4 separate regions of the Homo sapiens genome follow, and regions 1, 3 and 4 are each linked to region 2. The links are contacts of gene promoters, found by promoter capture Hi-C in human tissues and cell types (Jung and others, 2019). All regions are on one chromosome and are shown on one strand. Each heading gives the region's core, a stretch centred on a gene start or on the middle of the fragment in contact. The rest is flanking DNA. Distances are from core to core; before and after follow the strand shown. Region 1 overlaps EDNRB-AS1 (EDNRB antisense RNA 1). Region 2 holds the start of EDNRB (endothelin receptor type B). Region 3 has its middle 33 kb from the start of LINC01069. Region 4 overlaps LINC01069 (long intergenic non-protein coding RNA 1069).

Region 1 (3,023 bases), core at 57-2,556, 58 kb after region 2:
AAGGAAAAGGGCAAGGGCTGAATGTGGGATTCCTTCCGAGTTCTTATCTTCCTATAAGCAATCCTAGGAAGAATTATCTGGCTCCTCATCTTCTCTCTTCCAAAAATATTCCTGAACCTATTGATTTTATTTCCTGATTCCTCCAGGGATTTTCTCTTGACACTGGAAAACAAACTTTTACTGCTGAGAGACCTCATGTCTATCAAAAAGCCTACTTCTTACAAATCAAGTGTCTTGGGATTCAAGATTGTTTTCTTTGTTTTCAGTTCAAATCACTGTTTTAAAACTGAAGTTATGAGCCTATCACTTCTTCTTGTCATCTCTGCTACAATATTTGTAATACCCCCAAAGCAATGAATACTTCTGTCAGAAAAGGAAGAGGTTTATTTACAAGGAGGTATAAGACCTGTCCTAAGTGCAAGATTCGATTTAAATTATATATCACACTTCTAAATTTTCAAAAAATTACATTTTACGACTTTTTAACTCTAAGCCAAAAATATTTAGCACACGACCAGACCAATAAGTATATAAAACATTGAAACGACTACAAGGAGAATAAATACTACGCTAACAATTTTTAAAAACTGAAATAAAGTCTATGCAATTGTTAACTCTTAAGATGACACAAATTAGGTCTGCTAACATAAAAGGGAAATTTTATCGATTCAGATCCATGCCAGCTATCTTAATCTGCTGCATTGCCCGCAGAACAGAAAATCCTTGGATTTCTCCCTGAAAATCATGATTTCCAGGCTAGGCTCATTTTCCTTTTTCTAAATGTTTCATGTTTGGAAACACCACCTGAACTAACTGCACTGATGTTAGCAGACCCAGCTTTGATTCCTAATATCATCTAGCAGTTATTACTGACAATAACTGCTATGACTTACAAAAACTTCTGATTTTCAACTGCCATTATGTCTAAGGCAGTTTGGGCAAAACAGCTGAGGTAAAACAGGAAGATGAAGTTTACAGCTTGAGGGAAGCAACAGCTGTTGGCTGTCTTGAGAAAGGAATTGAGTACAAAACACAAACTTCTGTTGATTATGCATGCAAGCATAAAAGATAAATGACTCAGTGAAATGACTCACTTCATTTTCAAGTAAACTTTGTAGTTGTTACTCCTCTTCTACTATGTTAAATATTTAAGTTTACCTTTAATTATAGGCTAAGTCTGGACATCAAAACTTAAATTCTTTCAGCCTGCTACAAGAAGATATTAAATGCTTACTTCCAAAAATAACTTTGTTAATTGCTGTAGTAAGACATAAATCTGGCAGCGAATCCTTTGAAAATGAATACCACATGGATCAAATCATCTAATTAGTTTAGACAAGCCATAAATATGTTTTAATGGGCCAAAACTGTAAAATTGTTGGAGGCACTGCATAATTTCTTGGGGGGATTAAGTTGCTTTGCTTATTATTTTTGCTATTAATAATAGTATTTATTTGTACTCAGATAAGACTTGGAACTGTACACAATATATAGTCAAGAAACCCTCCATTTTAATTTGAAAAGAGAAGTAGTTGTGATTAAATACGCTTAAAATATTTTCATTTTTCCATTTTTTTAACTTTTTAATTTTTCTTTCATTATTAAAAGCCTCCAAAAAAGAGGAAGAAAAACATGAGAATAGTAAGAAAGGGGGAGGAAAGGCTGATAGAGAAGGAAAAAGGAAGAGAAGTAAAACAGGAAGGAAGGAGATGAGAAGTTGACCAGTTGGGGTCATTGACTGGAAGAAATAGTAACTGACTCCAACTAGCTTAGGCAAAAAGGCAACTTATTGGAAGCATATAGGTAGTTCGTAGATTAGTGAGGAAAGCTTAGAATCTTGACACACAAAACCAAACTTTTACTGCTCAAAGACCTTGTGTGTATCAAAAAGCCTAGCACTTTTTGAGAATTACTCACAGATTAGCGAGTAAAGCTTAGAATCCAAGGTTTGAAAAAAAACAGGAATGAGGGCAAAAACTAACAGATGCCTTCTTCCAGGTGGGATAAATCAGTTCCAGTGATTTTCTATTTATCCATCACTGTGTCTGGATACAAACGTTAAAAGAGAATTTTAGACAAATTAAATTTAACAGAGTTTAATTGAGCAAGGAAAAAAATGATTCACAAATCGGGCAGCCTCCAGAATCACAGCAGATTGAGCAAGACTCCAGGGATGCCTCACGGTCAGAGCAAATTTGTAGACAAACAAAATAAGTGACGTGCAGAAAAACGGAAGTGAGGTACAGAAACAGCTGGATTGGTTACAGGTTGGCATTTGCCTTCTTTGAACACAGTTTGAACAGTCAGCAGTGTACACGTGGTTGAAGTATGGCTGCTGGGATTGGCTGAGACTCAGCTATTGTTACAGAAGCATACGCCTAAGTTAGGTTTTCAGTCTTGTCTACCTATTAACTTAGGTTACGGTTCGTCCAAAAGGACTCAAATATGGAAGTACAGAGGCTTTTTCAGGCCATATTTAGTTCACTTTAACATAAATACTAAAGATAGAGAGTAGCACTGACCTAATTTGATTTAATGCTTACCCCTTAACTAAAGGGGATCCAGGGATGCTACACCCATGGGGAGACTGGAGAAATGGAAGAAGGCAAAACTAGCAAAGACATGAGAGTGAGGAACATGCAAAGAAGGAGAGGAAAAATCTGAGCAAAAGCAATGTGAATGCTTTGAACACATTCTTTGTACACATTCAATGAATTCAAGCATGCTTTTTGAGACTTTCATTTGCTTTGGGGCGGTGAGAAGGGGAGGGAGTTGATGAGGATGACTGAAGGATAAGTAGAGGCTGATGTTTTTAAGGAAACAGATCAGTAAATGATTTTTTTCAGAATAATTTCTGAATAGTGACCTGAATAAAAGATGCACTTCGACATTTAAAACTCCATCTTGAAATTGATTTATATATGACTAATTCAGAACATTGTGTATAGAAAATCAATCTGAATTATAAATTATGTTTCAAAAATGCCCTTCTGTTTTGTTCATTTAAACACAGTAATTGAATT
Region 2 (2,947 bases), core at 26-2,525:
TACTGGGGAAAATGAGGAGTACTTGTAATCCTCTCTCGGGGCAGTGAGAGGGCCTGGGAAGAAAAGATCGAGCTGTTCCGTGTTGGGGTTAATGTTGGCTTGAAATGAAACTTCAGGGCAAAATGAAGCAGAGCAAAGAGCAGCGCCCACAAACCAACCTTAAATATCACAGCGGCGGAACATTTACCTGAAAGAAAAGTGACACTTGGCATTAAAAGTTCAATTATCACGTTCAGTGCAGAGCCTTGTTCTAGTCTGGAGCTGCCGGGTGTCACATGGTGCGTGATAACTTGCCCTTGATTTGGGTTCATTTGAAGAGCGTAGAACTCTAACAAATAAACAGCCTTTTGGGACCTGTCCCCGGACGAGGACTGCCCCCCTCCCTCGGGCAACTACTACTGATGCTGTCCAGGCATCGCCCAAGGGGAAAGGTTGCAGCGGGGTCGGAAGGCGCGGGAGGAGTCTGGCGGTGATTGATGGGAAGGGATGAATGAATAAAAGTACTTGTCTGATGGCAGCAGAGACCCCGAGCAAACGGTGGAGGCTACACTGTCTGGCATTCTCGCAGCGTTTCGTCAGAGCCGGACCCGCCTGCAGCTCAAGGGAGGCGTGCTCCTCTCCCAGAGCAGGCTGGAACCCAGCTGGGTTCCGCCTCCCGGGAAGGTGGTCTCCATTCGTCGCTCTGCATCTGGTTTGTCAGATCCGAGAGGTAAACATTCGGGCTTGGTGTTGAATTAAAATCATTGATTGAACCTTATTCTGGGGCTTCGGTTTGGCTTACTAGTTTGGGATTTTAAAAAAATAAAAATTAAGCCTATAGAGAGGGCAAATTAAAATTAGGTTGGGTAAAGGAAGGAGCGCGAGTGTTTGAAGCCGTTTGGAGGGAACAGCGGTTTCCAAGTTCCTGCTGACTTGAGAAGTCTCTGCGGGTTTCCGAATCTCCGGCGCACTCCTGGGCGCGCTGCGGGAGCTGTAGCTCAGCCAGCCAGGGAGTAGCGGCTTTCATCCGCCGGGAGGAGTCTTTCGAGTTCAATCGCGGGGTATAGAGGTTCCCCTGCGGGGCAAAATGCAGAGCTTGACACAAGCCCTTGGCCTCTAGGTGCCTTAATTCCGCGGTTCCCACGCACGCTTAACTAAGACGTGTCTGTATTCCTCCCGTTACGTGAAAGAGTTCGGAGCTTTGCCTGGGACCCCCATCATTCCCTCCCTGGCACACCCCTTCCAGAACGCCCCGCCCCACTGCATATTATTTACCCCTCCTGGCCACGCGGGGGAAGAAAAACAGCTGAGAGGGCATCAGGAAGGAGTTTCGACCCGCGCTGGCGAGTCATGAGCGCCAAGTTTCCCACTGGCGCGCAAACTTGAGTTACTTTTGAGCGTGGATACTGGCGAAGAGGCTGCGGGCGGTATTAGCGTTTGCAGCGACTTGGCTCGGGCAGCTGACCCAAGTGTCCTGTCTTCCTTCCTCTGCTTGTCTCTAGGCTCTGAAACTGCGGAGCGGCCACCGGACGCCTTCTGGAGCAGGTAGCAGCATGCAGCCGCCTCCAAGTCTGTGCGGACGCGCCCTGGTTGCGCTGGTTCTTGCCTGCGGCCTGTCGCGGATCTGGGGAGAGGAGAGAGGCTTCCCGCCTGACAGGGCCACTCCGCTTTTGCAAACCGCAGAGATAATGACGCCACCCACTAAGACCTTATGGCCCAAGGGTTCCAACGCCAGTCTGGCGCGGTCGTTGGCACCTGCGGAGGTGCCTAAAGGAGACAGGACGGCAGGATCTCCGCCACGCACCATCTCCCCTCCCCCGTGCCAAGGACCCATCGAGATCAAGGAGACTTTCAAATACATCAACACGGTTGTGTCCTGCCTTGTGTTCGTGCTGGGGATCATCGGGAACTCCACACTTCTGAGAATTATCTACAAGAACAAGTGCATGCGAAACGGTCCCAATATCTTGATCGCCAGCTTGGCTCTGGGAGACCTGCTGCACATCGTCATTGACATCCCTATCAATGTCTACAAGGTAAAGGGCGCCTGCTGAAATCATGGTGGGCTTGAGGAAGGGGGCCTGGTTGGAGACGGGGAGATGAGAAAGCTTGTAGAGGGAGCTTCCCTTTAGCTCCCTCTTAAGGTTCTGCCCCTCCTAAAAGTCAGTAATCTTTGGAACCAAATTCCATTTGGTTCTGTCCACTCATAAAAGTCAGTAACCATTGGAATAAAATTCCATTCAGGTCTTCAGTAGACCTCTGCTAAGCTTAGGACAAGCGTAGTCCCCAGTCTAGCAATGTTAGTATCACTTTGGGAACTTGGTGCACATGAAGATTTTTCTGGCCTCACCCCAGACCTACTGAATCAGAAACTCTGGAGTGGAGCACAGTAATTTGTATTTTAACAAGCCCTTTATGTGATTATGATGAACTGTAAAGTTTGAGAACCACTAGTCCTGAAGGATCTAGTCCCTAAGTGCACCTAATGGGGTACATCCTCTAGTCAAAAGTGTGTGGTCCATGGACAGTCAGCATCAATATTACCTGAGAGTTTGTTAGGAATGCAAGGCTACCTCAGACTTACTAAGTTAGAATCTGCATCTTAAGATCTTCATGTGATTGATATGCCCACTAACTTTGGGAAGGACTGTTTTGGAAGACTTTGAAAGTAGCAGGTACAAAGTAGGTATTTAGGAAATAAATGGCCTGGAAAAAAGAGATCCAGACTGGTGAGTAGGAAAAACACAGTTCACCTGCTGTGACGGACTGTAGCTACTTTGTATTAAATATCTACAGTGGGCCAAGGACTGGGTGAGATGTGTTACTTCCATTATTCCTTCCAGCAGCCCACAAGTAGATATTACAATTAGTTTACAGATGACTGGTAGGATGATCAAAGTAAATGAATTAGAGGTGGAGCTGGGGATCAGACCCAATCTGTCAGGTTCCAAAGTGCAAGCTATATGAT
Region 3 (2,787 bases), core at 80-2,579, 43 kb before region 2:
TTCACGATATTGATTATTCTTATCCATGAGCATGGAATGTTCTTCCATTTGTTTGTGTCCTCTTTTATTTCGTTGAGCAGTGGTTTGTAGTTCTCCTTGAAGAGGTCCTTCACATCCCTTGTAAGTTGGATTCCTAGGTATTTTATTCTCCTTGAAGCAATTGTGAATGGGAGTTCACTCATGATTTGGCTCTGTTTGTCTGTTATTGGTGTATAAGAATGCTTGTGATTTTTGCACATTGATTTTGTATCCTGAGACTTTGCTGAAGTTGTTTATCAGCTTAAGGAGATTTTGGGTTGAGACAATGGGGTTTTCTAAATATACAATCATGTCATCTGCAAACAGGGACAATTTGACTTCCTCTTTTCTTAATTGAATACCCTTTATTTCTTTCTCCTGCCTGATTGCCCTGGCCAGAACTTCCAACACTATGTTGAATAGGAGTGGTGAGAGAGGGCATCCCTTTCTTGTGCCAGTTTTCAAACGGAATGCTTCCAGTTTTTTGCCCATTCAGTATGATACTGGCTGTGAGTTTGTCATAAATAGCTCTTATGATTTTGAGATATGTCCCATCAATACCTAATTTGTTGAGAGTTTTTAGCATGAAGGGCTGTTGAATTTTGTCAAAGGCCTTTTCTGCATCTATTGTGATAATCATGTGGTTTTTGTCTTTGGTTCTGTTTATATGCTGGATTACATTTATTGATTTGTGTGTGTTGAACCAGCAGGATGAAGCCCACTTGATCATGGTCAATAAGGTTTTTCATGTGCTGCTGGATTCGCTTTGCCAGTATTTTATTGAGGATTTTTGCATCAAAGTTCATCAGGGATATTGGTCTACAATACTCTTTTTTTTGTTGTGTCTCTGCCAGGCTTTGGTATCAGGATGATGCTGGCCTTATAAAATGAGTTAGGGGGGATTCCGTCTTTTTCTATTGATTGGAATATTTTCAGAAGGAATGGTACCAGCTCCTCCTTGTACCTCTGGTAGAATTCGGCTGTGAATCCATTTGGTCCTGGACGTTTTTTGGTTGGTAGGCTATTAATTATTGCCTCAATTTCAGAGCCTGTTATTGGTCTATTCAGGGATTTAACTTCTTCCTGGTTTAGTCTTAGGAGGGTGTACGTGTCCAGGAATTTATCCATTTCTTCTAGATTTTCTAGTTTATTTGCGTAGAGGTGTTTATAGTATTCTCTGATGGTAGTTTGTATTTCTGTGGGATTGGTGGTGATATCCCCTTTATCATTTTTTATTGCATCTATTTGATTCTTCTCTCTTGTCTTCTTTATTAGTCTTGATAGCAGTCTTTCAATTTTGTTGACCTTTTCAAAAAACCAGCTCCTGGATTCATTGATTTTTTGAAGGGTTTTTCATGTCTCTATCTCCTTCAGTTCTGCACTGATCTTGTTATTTCTTGCCTTCTGCTAGCTTTTGAATGTGTTTGCTCTTGTTTCTCTAGTTCTTTTAATTGTGATGTTAGGGTGTCAATTTTAGATCTTTCCTGCTTTCTCCTGTGGGCATTTAGTGCTATAAATTTCCCTCTACACACTGCTTTAAATATGTCCCAGAGATTCTGGTATGTTGTGTCTTTGTTCTCATTGGTTTCAAAGAGCATCTTTATTTCTGCCTTCATTTCGTTATGTACCCAGTAGTCATTCAGGAGTGGGTTGTTCAGTTTCCATGTAGTTGAGTGGTTTTGAGTGAGTTTCTTAATCCTGAGTTCTAGTTTGATTGCACTGTAGTCTGAGAGACTGTTGGTTCTTATTTCTGTTCTTTTACATTTGCCGAGGAGTGCTTTACTTCCAACTATGTGCGACGTGGTGCTGAGAAGAAAGTATATTCTGTTGATTTGGGGTGGAGAGTTCTGTAGATGTCTATTAGGTCTGCTTGGTGCAGACCTAATAAGTTTGGAATAAGTGCGACGTGGTGCTGAGAAGAGAGTATATTCTCTTGATTTGGGGTGGAGAGTTCTGTAGATGTCTATTAGGTCTGCTTGGTGCAGAGCTGAGTTCAATTCCTGGGTATCCTTGTTAACTTTCTGTCTTGTTGATCTGTCTAATGTTGACAGTGGGGTGTTAAAGTCTCCCATTATTATTGTGTGGGAGTCTAAGTCTCTTTCTAGTCTCTAAGGACTTGCTTTATGTATCTGGGTGCTCCTGTACTGGGTGCATATATATTTAGGACAGTTAACTCTTCTTGTTGAATTGATCCCTTTACCATTATGTAATGGCCTTCTTTGTCTCTTTTGATCTTTGTTGGTTTAAAGTCTGTTTTATCAGAGACTAGGATTGCAACTCCTGCTTTTTTTTTTTTTTTTTTCCATTTGCTTGGTAGATTTTCCTCCATCCCTTTATTTTGAGCCTATGTGTGTCTCTGCACGTGAGATGGGTCTCCTGAATACAGCACACTGATGGTTCTTGACTCTTTATTGAATTTGCCAGTCTGTGTCTTTTAACTGGAGAATTTAGCCCATTTACATTTAAGGTTAATATTGTTATGTGCGAATTTGATCCTGCCAATTATGATGATAACTGGTTATTTTGCTCATTAGTTGATGCAGTTTCTTCCTAGCATCGATGGTCTTTACAATTTGGCATGTTTTTGCAGTGGCTGGTGCTGGCTGTTCCTTTCCATGTTCAGTGCTTCCTTCAGGAACTCTTGTAGGGCAGGCCTGGTGTGACAAAATCTCTCCGAATTTGCTTGTCTGTAAAGGATTTTATTTCTCCTTCACTTATGAAGCTTAGTTTGGCTGGATATGAAATTCTGGGGTTGAAAATTCTTTTCTT
Region 4 (3,021 bases), core at 255-2,754, 60 kb before region 2:
AACCAAAATCCTTGGAGAGTAAAAAATATATACATAGGTCATTTTTTCCCCTTCTCTGCTATTATAACACCTCCCGTTATCAGTTCTCTAAAAGAACAATTCCAAACCTCAGAGTGTGCTGAGTCAGTTTATCAGCTTCTCTGCCACTTGCTTACTAGTATTTTTTGGACAACAATCATACCCACCTCTCTGCCACACTCGCAGGAAAGATATTTATTTCCACATATGCCCTCCTGGCTTCTGCACATCTAGATTCCTGTTCCCCTCTCCAAAAGCTGTTGCTAGCAGTCACATTTTTTTCTGCTGATCAAAGAAGAAAAGCAAAATCCATCTCTCCTTCTCTCCCTCCCTCCTTTTCTCTCTCCCTCCCTCCTTAAATCCCTTTTTCCCACTTAACTTTTGGAAAAACAATTGCGCAAGAAATTAGAAAACCCCAAAGATAGTATTTTCAAATTTCAACAAAATTATAAAAGATACACCTTTTTATTTGTGCCTCAGGATGCACAGAAAATAATGGATTTTCATATGGAAAAAAATAAATTTCAATGTTTCAAGAAAAAAAATGTAGCTGGACCAATCCTTATCAAGCCTTGAATGTGATCCCTTTACTCTTGACAATCAAGGACTCTAATCTACAGGTCTTTTACTTCTAACTCATTCTAAAATACATTTCAACTCACAGTTCCAAAATTCAGCCTCTTGAACCACTTTTCCTGTACTTAAACCTCATTACCTATCTCATTTTTCATGACTTTCTTTGCTATAAAGGTCATGGATTAAATTACCATATTTCTTCCCCTTATAAATCAGCAGGTATTAATTTTCTTAATGAATCATCAACTATTTATCAAGAGCCTATCATGTACCAGGCATTGTTTTAGGTGCTGGGCTACAGATATTAACAAGACAACTAATAAGAAGTTGCACTAATAAATACACAACACAATACCAAAAAGTAATGTAACTATCAACAATGACCTATATGAAAAGGAAATTAAGACAATCCCATTTGCAATATCATCAAACATAGTAAAATACTTTGGAATACATCTAACCATGGAGGTGAAAGATTTGTACACTGAAAACTATAAAACATTGATTAAAGAAGTTAAAGTAGGCACAAATAAATAGAAAGACATCCTGTGTTCATAGATTGGATGAATCAATATTGTTAAAACATCCATATGACTCAAAATAATCTATAGATTCAATGAAACCCCTGTCAAAATCTCAAAGATGTTTATTACAGAAGTAGAAAAAAAAAGCTCTAAAATTCATATGGAACTCCGAAAGACCCCAAACATCCAAAGAAATCTTGAGCAAAAAGAACAAAGCTGGAGGCATTGCACTTCCTGACTTCAATATGTATTACAAAGCTACTGTAACCAAAACAGTATGGCACGGGCATAAAAGCATAGAACAGTGAAACAAAATAGAGACCCCAGAAATAAGCCCACATATGTATGGTCAACTGATTTTCTACAGAGTGCCAAGAATACAAGGGGGAAGGGGTAGTCTTTCAATAAATAGGGTTGGCAAAACTGGATATCCATCTGCAGAAGAATGAAATGGGATGCTTATCTTTTACCAAACACAAAAATTAACCAAAATTGATTAAAGATTTGATGTAAAATTTGGCACCATACAACACCTAGAAGAAAATGTAAGGAAAAAATGTCTCAACATGGGTTTTGACAAAAATTGTTTCTTTGATAGGACACCAAAAGAACAGGCAACAATAGCAAAAATAGTAGTGAGACTATAACAAATTTTTTAAAACTTCTGCACAGCAAAGAAAATAATCAACAGAGTGAAAAGGCAAACTATGGAATGGGAAAAGATATTTGCAAACCATATATCTGATAAAGGGTTAATATCCAAACTATATAAAGGATTTCTGCAACTCGAGAGCAAAAAATAAGTAATTTGGTTAGAACATTGGAAAAGGAATCAAGTAGACATGTCCCCCAAAAGGACATACAAATGCCAACAGATAATATAAAAACATGCTCAATATCATTAATCACCAGGGAAATGCAAATTGAAACCACAAACAGGTATCAACTCACATTGGTTAGAATGGCTATTGTCCAGAAAACAAAAGATAACAAGTGTTGGTGAGGTTGTGGAGAAATTAGAATCCTCATATACTGTTAATAGGATGTAAAATTGTACTGCTGCTATGGAAAACAGTATGGCAGTTTCTCAAAAAACTAAAAATAGAATTACCATATGATACAGCAGTCCAACTTCTGGAGATAAAGATAGATAGATAGATAGATAGATAGATAGATAGATAGATAGATAGAGATATGTGTGTGTGTGTGTGTGTGTGTGTGTGTGTGTATCAACTGAAATCAGGATCTTGAAGACATATCTGCACTGTCATATTCACTGCAGCATTATTCACAATAACCAAGATATGGAAACAACCCAAATGTCCATCACAGATGAATGGGTAAAGAAAAGATGGCACATATATATATATATATATATATATATATATATATATATATATATGTATATATATATGTGTGTATTTTATGTATATATATATATATACACGTGTATATATATATATACACGTGTATATATATATATATATATACACGTGTATATATATATATATATATATATATATAATAGAATATCATTTAGCCCTTAAAAAGAAGGAGATCCCTTTGGGAGTCTGAGGCGGGCAGATGACCTAAGGTCAGGAGTTCGAGACCAGCCTGACCAACATGGTGAAACTCCATCTCCACTAAAAATACAAAAATTAGCCAGGCGTGATGGTGGGTGCCTGTAATCCCAGCTATTTGGGAGGCTGAGGCAGGAGAATCACTTGAACCTGGGAGCCGGAGGTTGCAGTGAGCTGAGATCATGCCATTGCACTCCAGCCTGGGTGACAAGAGTGAAACTCCATCTCAAAAAATAAAATTAAATTTAAAAATAAAATAAAATGAAGGAGATCTTACCATTTATGATAACATGGGTGGATCTGTAATACGTTATGGTAAGTGG

What was found. The method cuts DNA at HindIII sites, captures the fragments that hold promoters and counts their contacts. A contact is called where the count stands out against the background at its distance.
Region 1: a fragment that was not itself captured here is called in contact with the fragment with the promoter of EDNRB in region 2 in 3 of the 25 tissues and cell types used here (H1 embryonic stem cells, bladder and neural progenitor cells).
Region 3: a fragment that was not itself captured here is called in contact with the fragment with the promoter of EDNRB in region 2 in 7 of the 25 tissues and cell types used here (H1 embryonic stem cells, adrenal gland, hippocampus and 4 more).
Region 4: a fragment that was not itself captured here is called in contact with the fragment with the promoter of EDNRB in region 2 in 1 of the 25 tissues and cell types used here (adrenal gland).

The regions. Positions count from the first base shown.
Region 1 is chr13:77,858,853-77,861,875 of GRCh38, reverse strand. All of the region lies in intron 6 of EDNRB-AS1 (EDNRB antisense RNA 1), which reads right to left. Among named protein-coding and RNA genes, the nearest start is that of EDNRB-AS1, 41 kb to the right of the region's middle. The HindIII fragment of the contact is 3,072 bases long and covers 1-2,842 here.
Region 2 is chr13:77,917,159-77,920,105 of GRCh38, reverse strand. It overlaps EDNRB (endothelin receptor type B), which reads left to right and starts at 1,275. Exons shown (of 7, transcript NM_001122659.3): 1 at 1,275-2,015. The coding sequence starts at 1,533. RefSeq lists a cis regulatory region at 909-918 and promoters at 1,170-1,284, 274-1,346. The HindIII fragment of the contact is 11,006 bases long and covers 1-2,947 here.
Region 3 is chr13:77,960,394-77,963,180 of GRCh38, reverse strand. It overlaps a transcript of EDNRB not described here. Among named protein-coding and RNA genes, the nearest start is that of LINC01069, 33 kb to the left of the region's middle. The HindIII fragment of the contact is 6,838 bases long and covers 1-2,787 here.
Region 4 is chr13:77,977,300-77,980,320 of GRCh38, reverse strand. LINC01069 (long intergenic non-protein coding RNA 1069) reads left to right here. Exons shown (of 3, transcript NR_108076.1): 3 at 1-555. Among named protein-coding and RNA genes, the nearest start is that of LINC01069, 16 kb to the left of the region's middle. The HindIII fragment of the contact is 5,052 bases long and covers 1-3,021 here.